Regions from separate parts of the Homo sapiens genome. Here region 1 is linked to region 2. The links are contacts of gene promoters, found by promoter capture Hi-C in blood cells and fetal thymus (Javierre and others, 2016). All regions are on one chromosome and are shown on one strand. The core of a region is centred on a gene start or on the middle of the fragment in contact, and the rest is flanking DNA. Distances in the headings are between cores, read along the strand shown.

What was found. The method cuts DNA at HindIII sites, captures the fragments that hold promoters and counts their contacts. A CHiCAGO score of 5 or more calls a contact.
Region 1: a contact is called between a fragment that was not itself captured here and the fragment with the promoter of SMPD1 in region 2, in 7 of 17 cell types (activated CD4 T cells, non-activated CD4 T cells, naive CD4 T cells and 4 more). The highest score is 8.4, in activated CD4 T cells.

The regions. Positions count from the first base shown.
Region 1 is chr11:6,630,935-6,636,560 of GRCh38, forward strand. It overlaps DCHS1 (dachsous cadherin-related 1), which reads right to left. Exons shown (of 21, transcript NM_003737.4): 3 at 3,184-3,372; 4 at 2,855-3,086; 5 at 2,478-2,714; 6 at 1,097-2,122; 7 at 682-875; 8 at 377-473; 9 at 119-276. Among named protein-coding and RNA genes, the nearest start is that of TPP1, 14 kb to the left of the region's middle. The HindIII fragment of the contact is 2,679 bases long and covers 534-3,212 here.
Region 2 is chr11:6,386,038-6,391,723 of GRCh38, forward strand. It overlaps SMPD1 (sphingomyelin phosphodiesterase 1), which reads left to right and starts at 4,437. Exons shown (of 6, transcript NM_000543.5): 1 at 4,437-4,879; 2 at 5,347-5,686. The coding sequence starts at 4,562. It overlaps LOC124902624 (a long non-coding RNA gene), which reads right to left and starts at 4,319. Exons shown (of 2, transcript XR_007062573.1): 1 at 4,070-4,319. RefSeq lists a silencer at 4,154-4,653. The HindIII fragment of the contact is 7,977 bases long and covers 3,388-5,686 here.

The sequences.
Region 1 (5,626 bases), core at 623-3,122, 240 kb after region 2:
GGTGGTAGGAAAGTGGTCAGAGTAGCCTGACTGCTAGTGGAGCCAAAGGATTCCCGTGAAGCTGGAGCTACTGAAGGGGACCTACAGCGGTAGCCAAGGGGAGGAAGGGCAGCCATACCTGCACCAGCAGCTGGAGGCTGGCACTTCGAGGAGGGCTGCCTTGGTCATGAGCACTCAGTGTCAGCACATAGTGGGGCCGCTCTGCTCGGATCAGGGGAGCTGCAGTGAGCAGCTCCCCTGAGTGAGGGTGCAGAGAGAAAAGCTCTGAGCCAGGACCTGGGGACAGGCAGAGGAAGATGAGGGCTTGGGGCCCAGAGCTGGGCAGGCCATGAGGGCATGCCATCACCCACCAATTCTCCTCTCTCCACTCCCATACCAGTTAGCGTGTACAAGATGGTCCCATTCTCCCCCTCATCTGGATCCTTCGCCTGCAGAGTCGTCACCAGTGTTCCCGGAGGCACGCGGTCTGGTACCTGTGGGAACACAACTCACCTAGTGAGTCTCTTTCCTGTTCTTCAGACAACTCAGGATAAAGCTTCCCTCACCTGTGGGCAGGCAGAACCTCTTTTCGGCTCTCACACCCAATCCAGGAGGCAGTCTCTTACCTACACCTACAGCTCTATGGGGAGATCCCCACTCCCTCTCACACTTCTCAGGACAAAGTCCTGCCACTTCACATACCTGTATAGGGAGGCCCCCACCAGCAGCTCCTGAAGCCTGCAGGAACGTGGGGCTGTTGTCGTTGAGGTCAAGCACTGCAACATGCACAGTGCCTGTGGTGCTGCGGGGTGGGCTCCCTCCATCCTGCACCTGCACCAGGAGCTGATAGCTGCTCTGCTGCTCACGGTCCAGGGTTTGGAGTGTGGTCACTTCTCCTGGGAGTGCAAGAAGGCGATCATGTACGAGATGTTTAAGGATGCAGAGCCTGAGGCCTGCACCTAAGAAGCTGGTGTTTGGGGAGTGGGGGAGGGAATGCCAGGGCTAAATCCTCATTCTCAGGGGCGAGATGGGAGCTGGGGGTTGGGGATCCTGTCTGAATGTTCACCAGGCTGGGGATAAGGCTATGCGGTCTCAGGATTTGGGTCTCTGTGCTCACCAGTCTGGGGGTGGATGCGGAAGGCCTTGCTGTCTTCAGACAGCTGTTGCAGGCTGTAGGTCAGACGTCCATTGGGTCCTGAGTCTCGGTCAGTGGCAAAGACTCGGCCCACGCTGGTCCCTGGGGGCTGGTTCTCAGCCACAGCCAGGAAGGTGGGATCCTCAGACAAGCGGGGACTGTGTTCATTCTGGTTGAGGATGCTGACCCTCACGGTGGCTGTGCCTGTCTGCTGCCCCAACTCAGCTTTGGACCCAGACACTGCCATTACCTTCAGTATGTACAATTCCTGGGCCTCACGGTCTAGTGCTGCCCGCACCCATAGCCACCCACTCTGTGGCTCCAGGCCAAAGGGGCTACTTGCTCCCTCTGCTGCAAGGTGATAGGTGATAGGGCCCCCATCTGGTGCTTGGGCCTGCACTTGCAGGACCTGAGTTCCAGCAGTGGTGCCTGAGGGCAGGTCCACACGGTAGGTAGGGCTGTTGAATCGGGGAGCCAGCCCACGGGTTCCCACATCCTGTACCACCACCCGTAGTCGAAAGTGGCTGGTGCGTGGTGGGGAGCCCCCATCCCGGGCCTCCAGCTCCAGCTCATGGGCTGGCCCTCCTGAGGGCCCCAGAGGCCTCATAAGCCGTACATGGCCTGTGGTGGGGTCCACGGTGAAGGCTCCACCACCCCCAGCAAGCAGGGTAAAGGTGACTCGACTGTTAACACCTGAGTCGGGGTCAAGAGCCCGCAGTGTATAGATGGGAGTCCCTGGGGCAGTGTTTGGTGGTAGCAATACCGTGTCTTCAGGTGCAGGAAAGGCAGGGGAGTTGTCATTCACATCATCCAGCAGCACACGCACCCGAGCTACAGCGAAAGCTGGGGGCACTCCACTGCCTGCTCGCACCTCCAGCTCCAACACTGGTCCCAGTAGCTCCCGGTCCAGAGGGCGAAGTGTTTGCAACAGTCCTGATACCGCATCTAGGGAGAAGAGTCCTCGGGGATCCCCACCTGATAGGGAAAGGGTCACAGGTGCCAAGCGACCTAGGGAGGATGAAAAAGGGATCAGGAAAGAGATGGAGGGGCACTTATTGAGTCAGGACCCAGAGTCTGATCCCGAGAAGGACTGGGCAGTGCCCACACCCATGCCTTTCAAAATATTAGGAGGAGGGGCAGGGGTTGGCAAAGAAGTTGGTTGGCACGCACTGAGGTGACATTCCTATGCCTCATGAAGCAGTGTGCCTGCACTGTGCCTAAGGAGGTGTTGGGCATTGGTACAGGAGTGTTTTATACTGGGGCTATCTGCCCTGTGATACTCTAAGGTATCTTCGGATGGTGCTGGAGGGTTATACTGGGGTATTTGGGTCTGACACCAAGTGGGTATAAAGCTAAATGATACCTGGTGGGTTGTGTGCCTGGACTATGCCCACACTGGTGCCTGGTGCCACATCCTCTGGCACAGAAAAAACATACTGTAGTTGCTCAAATATGGGTGGTGTGGGGGTTCCAGGCACAATGCTGATGTCCACTCGGGCACTGGGTTCTGCCTGTAGGCCACCTCCGTCCTCAGCCCCGATCTCCAGCTGCACCACAGAATTGGCCCGTCTGGCCAAGGGCCAGGCTACTGTCAACAGCCCTGAGAGGAAGAATAGAAGCAGAGATATATAAGGAAACATAATAGGGCTAGAAAGGTTATGGAGGAGGTGGGTAGGACATCATTTAGGCAGGTGGGGAGGGGGACCTGGGGGAAGGCCCCGGGAATGGGAGGATCCTCACCTGATTGCTCATCCAAGGTAAAAAGTGGGGGGCTGTTGCCAGCCAGGATATGGTAGGAGAGTCGCCCATGGGATCCCTGGTCAGGGTCATGGGCACGCAACCTCAGCACAGCTGTGCCTGGTGGACTCTGGGCACTTATACTGGCAGCATACTCCCGTGGATAAAACTGAGGAGGGTTGTCATTCTCGTCTGACAGAAACACCTTCACATATACCATGGACTTGAGGCCTCCCTGGTGGGACATGCAGCCATAGGTCAGGTGGGCCTCATCTGGCCCTGGTGAGTGCCCTACCCCAACATCCCAACCTGCCCTTGGTCTACTGACTTACCCCATCCACAGCTGTCACTGTGAAGTCAAAGCTTGAGGGCCCCTGGTCACGGTCCAGGGTCCGGGTTGTGCACACATCACCGCTGTGGGCATCAATGCGGAATGGGGGAGATCCGGAGGACCCAAGTCCAGCACCCAAGGAATAGGAGAGGAGGCCAAATGGGCCACTATCCGCGTCTGTGGCTGTCACCTAGGGAGAGGCTGGGGTGAGTGGTGTCCCCTCTTCTTTGCCAGAAAAGCCAGAGGTAGGTGGCCATTAGAATGAACAACTGGTGCTAAGTCTCTGGATGGCGGACACACAGAGAGGACTAGTAGGACATGGGCCCAAACCCAACCTCAGCCTGTACCTCACCATTTAGTTAGGTTCCTAAGTGCCTCTAGCCATAACATTTTTTGTCAGCTGGTCAATACATAACCTTGTTTGATGTGTGTTTCTGTTTAAAGACATCTTATGTTTAATATACATTGTTCATTCATTAACATTGAACTCACAGCCAACAGCACTGTAACTCATGCCTGAATAAAGCTTATCTAACATATGTATTTTCTCCATACAACACATCACAGCCTTCTTGTACTGAGGAACATTAGACCACACTTCAGCACTACACTTGGGGACCATTTAAACAGTGAAATCATCAGCTTTTTGCACTAAAAAAATGAAAAAAAAAAGTTGCAGTAAATAGACCTGAAAGGGACATTTGTTTACAAGCATGAGAGCCCAAATGAGAAGGCAGAACATCGTCTTGTTCACCCTGTGCTGGGAATGTGAACATTAGGTAACTCAAATTTTTCATCTCTCTGCCCATGTCCAGGAATGCTAGTATTGATTTTGGAGTTACAAATAAATTTTCGAGATTAAGTGAATTCACAAATAATGAGGACCAACTGTACTTAGAAAGAAGAAAGGGCTGTGACCTCAAATTCCAGGTGGGTCCAGGAAGTTAATACCCTCACCAAGTCTCATAATCACCCCAAACCAAGAACTCACCGACAGTGGAATTATTGAGACTGATTTATAGGTTTGATCTTTATTGAGTTTGATTATTACAGAGTGGGATCTGATTAATACTGGGATCTGATCACTATAGGGTCTGTTCTATAGATTTATGGGTGTGTGGCTCATGCATCGTTAGCCTAGTACAGTGCAAGGTACATAGTAGGTGCTTTATGTGTATTTTTTCACCGAGTAAATCGACGGTCTGATCATCCTGCTTTGTAACAAAACCTTCTTTCACACTAAGTTTTATACATTGGGTACACATTAGGCCCTCAATAGTGGGTTAGCTGGTGCTGACAACTGTAGCCTGTGACAAAGCGCTCTTTGTGGATATAAGGACCTCAGGGTCAGGATATGCTGCAAGAGGAAGCTGGAGAGTTCCCCTTTCTCAGCCAGAAAATGTGCTTAGAGAGAAAGCTGGCCAAGGACTTCTGATTGTGGCCCAGACCCTTGACAGAAATGATCTGTGCCATTGTTTACCCTCCTGAGAGACACCAAGACCCTGCCATGGCTGAACCCTGGAAACAGCTTCTGCTCCAACTCTCTACTGTGGCTGTGGGCCCGGATATCCCAGGAGACAGACTTCCCCTACATCAATCCTGGCAGGCAGCAGCACAGCTGCGGCACCATCTCCAGAAGCTGTTAACGACCTTTGCCCTCTGACTCGCTGCAGGAAGAAAGCAATAAACAGTGGTCTGGGGAAGTTGTCAGGAAGTGACCCCAAAAGGCACAGGGGCCACTGACTGGAAATGAGCAAGGCAGAAGTGAATTTCCTGGCCTGTACAACCCCTGCTCAGAGGTTTCACTGCAAATACAGTCTCCATTTTCAGCAGATTCTCAGCTCAGCGTCTCAGTCCGACCTTGGTCGGCTCCCTCTCCCATTCTGCCCCAAAGCCATAATAAACTTCATCCCTCTTCTCTTGCCCCCATCCCATCCCTTGCTCTCATCAGATGCACTATTTCAAGGAGAAAAGAAAGACACTTATCTGTGAACTCTCTAAACTTCTTACTAGCCTCGAAACTTACTCCATATGCCTATCCCAACCTCTTTTCCAGGTGTACCTCCTGCTTTGACTTTTCAAAACATAAATTATTTATTTATTTAATTTATTTTTGAGACAGGCTCTCTGTTGCCCAGTCTGGGGTGCAGTGGTGTGATCCTAGCTCACTGCAACTTCGAACTCCTGGGCTCAAGCAATCCTCCTGCCTTAGCCTCCGGAACAACTAGGACTACAGGCGTGCACCACCATGCCTGGCTAGTTTTTTTATTTTTTGCATAGACAGTGTTTCACTATGTTGCCCAGGCTGGTCTCAAACTCCTGGCCTCAACCAGTCCTTCCACCTTGGCCTCCCAAAGTGCCGAGATTACAGGCGTGAACCACTGTGCCTGGCCTTTATTTATTTTTTAAGACAGGCTCTCACTATGTTGTCCAGGCTGGTTTGG
Region 2 (5,686 bases), core at 3,187-5,686:
TATGTAAATTCTTGGTGAACAACTTAGTGTCTATGAAAAGAGTGAAACTCTGTAAAATATTTGAAGAGATTTATTTTGAGCCAAACGAGTGACCATGGCCCGTGACACAGCCCTCAGGAGGTCCTGAGAACATGTGCCCAAGGTGGTCAGGGTGCAGCTTGGTTTTATACATTTTAGGGATGTATGAGACATCAATCAAATAAATTTGAGAAATACATTGGTTTGGTCAAGAAAGGTGGGACAATCTGAAGCTGGGGGATGGGGAGCTTCCAGGCTATAGGGAAATTTAAACATTTTCTGGTTGACAATTGGTTGAGTTTGTCTAAAGACCTGGGATCAATAGAAAGGAAATGTTCAGGTTAAGATAAAAGATTGTGGAGGCCGGGCACAGTGGCTCACACCTGTAATCCCAGCACTTTGGGAGGCTAAGGCAGGCGGATCACGAGGTCAAGAGATGGAGACCATCCTGGCCAACATCGTGAAGCCCCATCTCTATTAAAAATATGAAAATTAGCTGGGTGTGGTGGCAGATGCCTGTAGTCCCAGCTGCTCGGGGGGCTGGGGTAGGAGAATTGCTTGAACCCGGGAGGCGGAGGTTGCAGTGAGCCGAGATTACACTGTTGCACTCCAGCCTGGGCGACAGAGTGAGACGCCATTTTTAAAAAAAAAAAAAAGATTGTGGAGACCAAGGTTCTTTGAAGTCTCTTAGTGGCTGCCCTTAGAGACAACAGTCGACAAATGTTTCCTATTCAGACCTTTAAAAGGTGCTAGACTCTCAGTTAATCTCTTCAGGATTGGAGGGCCCAGAAGAAAAAGATCTGTGTTATTAGAGATTCTTTACAGATGTAAATTTTCCCCCATAAGGTACGACTTTGCAGGGCCATTTCAAAATATGGCAAAGTGGCCGGGTGCGGTGGCTTACTCCTGTAATCCCAGTACTTTGGGAGGCCAAGGCAGGCGGATCACCTGAGGTCAGAAGTTCGAGACCAGCCTGGCCAGCATGGCAAAACCCCATCTTTATTAACAATACAAAAATTAGCTGGGCATGGTGGTGGTGGGTGCCTGTAATCCCAGCTACTCGGGAGGCTGAGGCAGGAGAATCCCTTGAATCTGGGTGGGGGAGGTTGCAGTAAGCCAAGATCACCCCATTGCACTCCAGCCCGGGCAATAAGAGTGAAACTCTGTCCCGCCCCCCACCCCAAACCAAAAAACATATATATATATATATATATATATATATATATATATATATATATGGCAAAGAAACATGTTTTGGGGTAAAATATTTTGACTTTCTTCTTTATCACGTAATTTTATGCCAGAGTATGACTGAAAAGGCAGTCACAATATATAGTGTTAAATAAAACCCAACTGATAAGAATTTATGGTTTGTAGGGCATGACTCCCCAGACCCTTTCGATAGGAATTTGAGCAAGATAAGAAAAAATCAGAGCTTAGTCCTCATTAGGAACTGCCTCTTCTTCTCCTTTAAAAACCCACTTGTGACTTCTGCTAATTGGGAGCATATACTCAGGGCAACTTGAATCTTCGCTTCACAGTCTTCAAACTTGGCCCAAATAAACTCTCTACTTATATCAAGTTTGCCTTAGATTTTTCCCTTTAGGTTGACATTTCCCAGAAGTTTTAATCAGATGAAGAAAGCTCCCAGAAGGTTTATTTCTGCATCTATTGAATCTGAAATGTCTTCGGCTTAAAATAATTGTTATACCAACTCTGGTGTTCTGAATGGGTCCCCACACAGCAAAGAATAGAGCCAGAATGTTGCATTTGTGAAAGGAAAATAAAAACTCAGGACTCCAGTTGACTATGCCAAAAGGAAAAAAAATAAACTGAAAACTGAGTCATGCAAGAAGCTGCCTTTCCTTTTGTTCCTAAGCAGATAGCTACAGACAAAAGGTTAAATATTTACAAAATTAGCCGGGTGTGGTGGCACATGCCTGTAATCCCAGCTACTCAGTAGGCTGAGGCAGGAGAATCACTTGAACCCGGGAGGCAGAGGTTGTGGTGAGCCGAGATTGCGCCATTGCACTCCAGCCTGGTCAACAACAGCGAAAACTCTGTCTCAAAAAAAAAAAAACAAAAAAAACACAAAAGGTTAAATATCTCCACAGGCATATTTACTTTATCTTATGTAAAGTGCCAGACGAACACATAATTGAGTATCTCCCTACCTGCTCCTTTTCTCTTGCGACATGTGGATTACCATACCCTTCTTCTTTCCCTCCAGCTCACTTTTCCCCTTTAAATATTGAAGCCCTCAAAATCATCTTTGGAGAAAGCCACAGACCACAGACTGTTTCTGCGATTCCGTGTTTATTTCTTCCAGCCATGTCCTTAACCTTGGCAAAATAAACCTCTAAATTGATTGAGACCTGTCTCAGACATGTTTTGCTTGACACATCCAAATTCCAGTTCCAGCACTTACTAGCTAGCTGTGGGATCTTGAGCCACTTACTTAATCCTACTTTCCTTCTCCGTAAAATGGGGATAATTATAATACCGACTTCCAAATTTGTTGTGAGGATTAACGTAAGGCAGAGTCCTCAGAAAAGTACCTACAGAGGGTTATTCGGGCCAAGGGCCAAGGTTGAGGACTGCGACCCAGGACACACTTGCAAGTTGTCTTGGGGGAGCACTCTGGACAACAAAAGAGAGGCTCATATTTTCAAAGAAAAAAAGATGAATTAGGAGAGGAAATGAATACAAAAGTTGTTCATCAGGAATTCTCATTGTTTACAGAAATAACACTGGTTATACATTGTTTAGCGCTTGGCTATACATTGTTGAACTATAAGGTGTATGGCATTTAATGGCTACTTGGCATAGCAAGTGGTTTCAAGAGATAATTACTTAGCTCAAAGAAGAGTGAGAGTGACTGTTGCTACATTTTAAATGCCTGTCTGGGCCTGATAATTTAAAGGGGCTCATCTTCCTTAGATAAAAAGGTTTTGTTTTGTTTTGTTTTTCATAGTACATAATCTTAAAAATGCATGCTAATTATTACTGTGAGTACTCTATCTGAGATGATGTCCCCAGAACTGGGGGGAAAAAACACTTGTAAAAAATTATCAAAGGAAAGAACTGACAGGACTTGATAGCTCTGAGGATTCCTCAGAAGCACTCGTCAAACAGCTTAGGGTTTAATTGCTATTCTGCCACTTAACTTCTTTGTGCCTCATCCTATCTGTAAAGGAGGGTAATAATAGTATTTGCAGGGACCAAGGGAAACTTTCCCTTCGCCCTCTGAAATTCTGCTGAAAAATCAACCCACAAAAAACAGATTAATTGAAGAAAAGGCATAGAAATTGTATTAATGTGTCCACGGGGAACCACAGAGTGACTACCCACTTCCCAGACGAGTTCAGAAGCTTAGGTGTCATTCAGGCAAAGGGGGTTGTGGGAGTGAGGGGAAGAGGAATTCTGCTGAGGGAGAAGGAATGGATCAGGGAACAGATTAACTAGCACATTATCATGTGAAGGGGTCTGTTCAGGTGTGATTATATTCTTGGTTTTGTAGGGAGGGGAAGAAAAAAACCGTTGTTCCTTTTGATGGGTCTGGACGCTAGGTAACGGCTTTGGGAGAGAGGGCGCGGGAGTAGGAAGGCCAGACACACCTTAAGGCTTAACTTAGTAAGTCAAACCACCATATTTTGGGTATGGATTTCTGAGCCCCAATATAATAGGTACTTCTTAGGGTTGTTGTGAGAATTGAAGATTATTAATTATAAAGTGCCTGGGTTGGTGCTTGGCACATCATAAACAACTCCATAAATGCTCGCTTTTACTGTCGTGGATACACGGAGGTGGGAGACCCAATTGGGTTCCCGCCCATGTTATTGGCCCCCACGGCTATATGGTCTTTACGGCTTCCTAGTCTCTTCACCATCTCTAAGGTTTGTTTCCTCATCTGAATCACAGGTGAGTGATTCTCAGGGTGACTCAAGAGGGCTGGTGCCAGTGGCAGAGCATGGGGAATCGAGGGAAGGCGCCTTCCTGTCAGAGGCAACACACCCAGTGGGAGGATCCTGCCCGCCCTGCTCTCTCCTACCTCCCCTTCCCGGGCTAAACGCTGGGGTCGGTCTGGCAGCTATTCCGGGAATCTGAGCGCGGATTCTGACAAAGGAGACGTCTTCCACCGACCACATCACATGGAGCTCCAAAGCACGAGCACGGCCTCCCGCGGCTGTGACCTCAAGGCGGAGCCCCTGGTGACCTCAGGGAGAGTCCCCACCCCCGCAGCCCGTGCGCCCGGGGCAGGGCGGGGGCAGGGAGAGGGGGCGGAATCGGGGCGGTCCCGGGAGCGCCCCGCCCCCTCCGCCTCCGCAGCGTTGACAGCCGCCCGCCACCGAGAGATCAGCTGTCAGAGATCAGAGGAAGAGGAAGGGGCGGAGCTGCTTTGCGGCCGGCCGCGGAGCAGTCAGCCGACTACAGAGAAGGGTAATCGGGTGTCCCCGGCGCCGCCCGGGGCCCTGAGGGCTGGCTAGGGTCCAGGCCGGGGGGGACGGGACAGACGAACCAGCCCCGTGTAGGAAGCGCGACAATGCCCCGCTACGGAGCGTCACTCCGCCAGAGCTGCCCCAGGTCCGGCCGGGAGCAGGGACAAGACGGGACCGCCGGAGCCCCCGGACTCCTTTGGATGGGCCTGGTGCTGGCGCTGGCGCTGGCGCTGGCGCTGGCGCTGGCTCTGTCTGACTCTCGGGTTCTCTGGGCTCCGGCAGAGGCTCACCCTCTTTCTCCCCAAGGCCATCCTGCCAGGTTACATCGCATAGTGCCCCGGCTCCGAGATGTCTTTGGGTGGGGGAACCTCACCTGCCCAATCTGCAAAGGTCTATTCACCGCCATCAACCTCGGGCTGAAGGTGAGCACTGAAGGGGCTGCAGTGGAGGAGGCCGAAAGGAGTGCTGGGGCTGGGGGCTGGGGCTGATGCTGGTGCGCTGGGCTCAGAATGCATCCCTGATGGAGAGGGTGGCATCTACAATCCATCACTGAGTTTGCTCCCCTTTGGGGACACCCATGGCTACATGCCACCATCACCCCATTGTGACCTTTGTGAAGTAAGAAAATAATGCAGACAGTGCCTGAGGAAGTCAGCTTGCCAAGCAAAGGCCTCATGCCACAGGCCGCTGAGCTAAAGAAGAAGCGATGGCCTGGTGCTGCCTGAGTTACAGGGCAATATCTGGAAGGCAAAGGTGTGCACTGAGCTTGGTGCACTGAGTCCTGCCCAGCCCCAGTTTGGAAATGGAGGCCCAAGGGGTGGTGGCCAGGGGTTGGCCTGGTTCCTCTGCTCTGCCTCTGATTTCTCACCATGCGCTCCTCCCACTGCAGAAGGAACCCAATGTGGCTCGCGTGGGCTCCGTGGCCATCAAGCTGTGCAATCTGCTGAAGATAGCACCACCTGCCGTGTGCCAATCCATTGTCCACCTCTTTGAGGATGACATGGTGGAGGTGTGGAGACGCTCAGTGCTGAGCCCATCTGAGGCCTGTGGCCTGCTCCTGGGCTCCACCTGTGGGCACTGGGACATTTTCTCATCTTGGAACATCTCTTTGCCTACTGTGCCGAAGCCGCCCCCCAAACCCCCTAGCCCCCCAGCCCCAGGTGCCCCTGTCAGCCGCATCCTCTTCCTCACTGACCTGCACTGGGATCATGACTACCTGGAGGGCACGG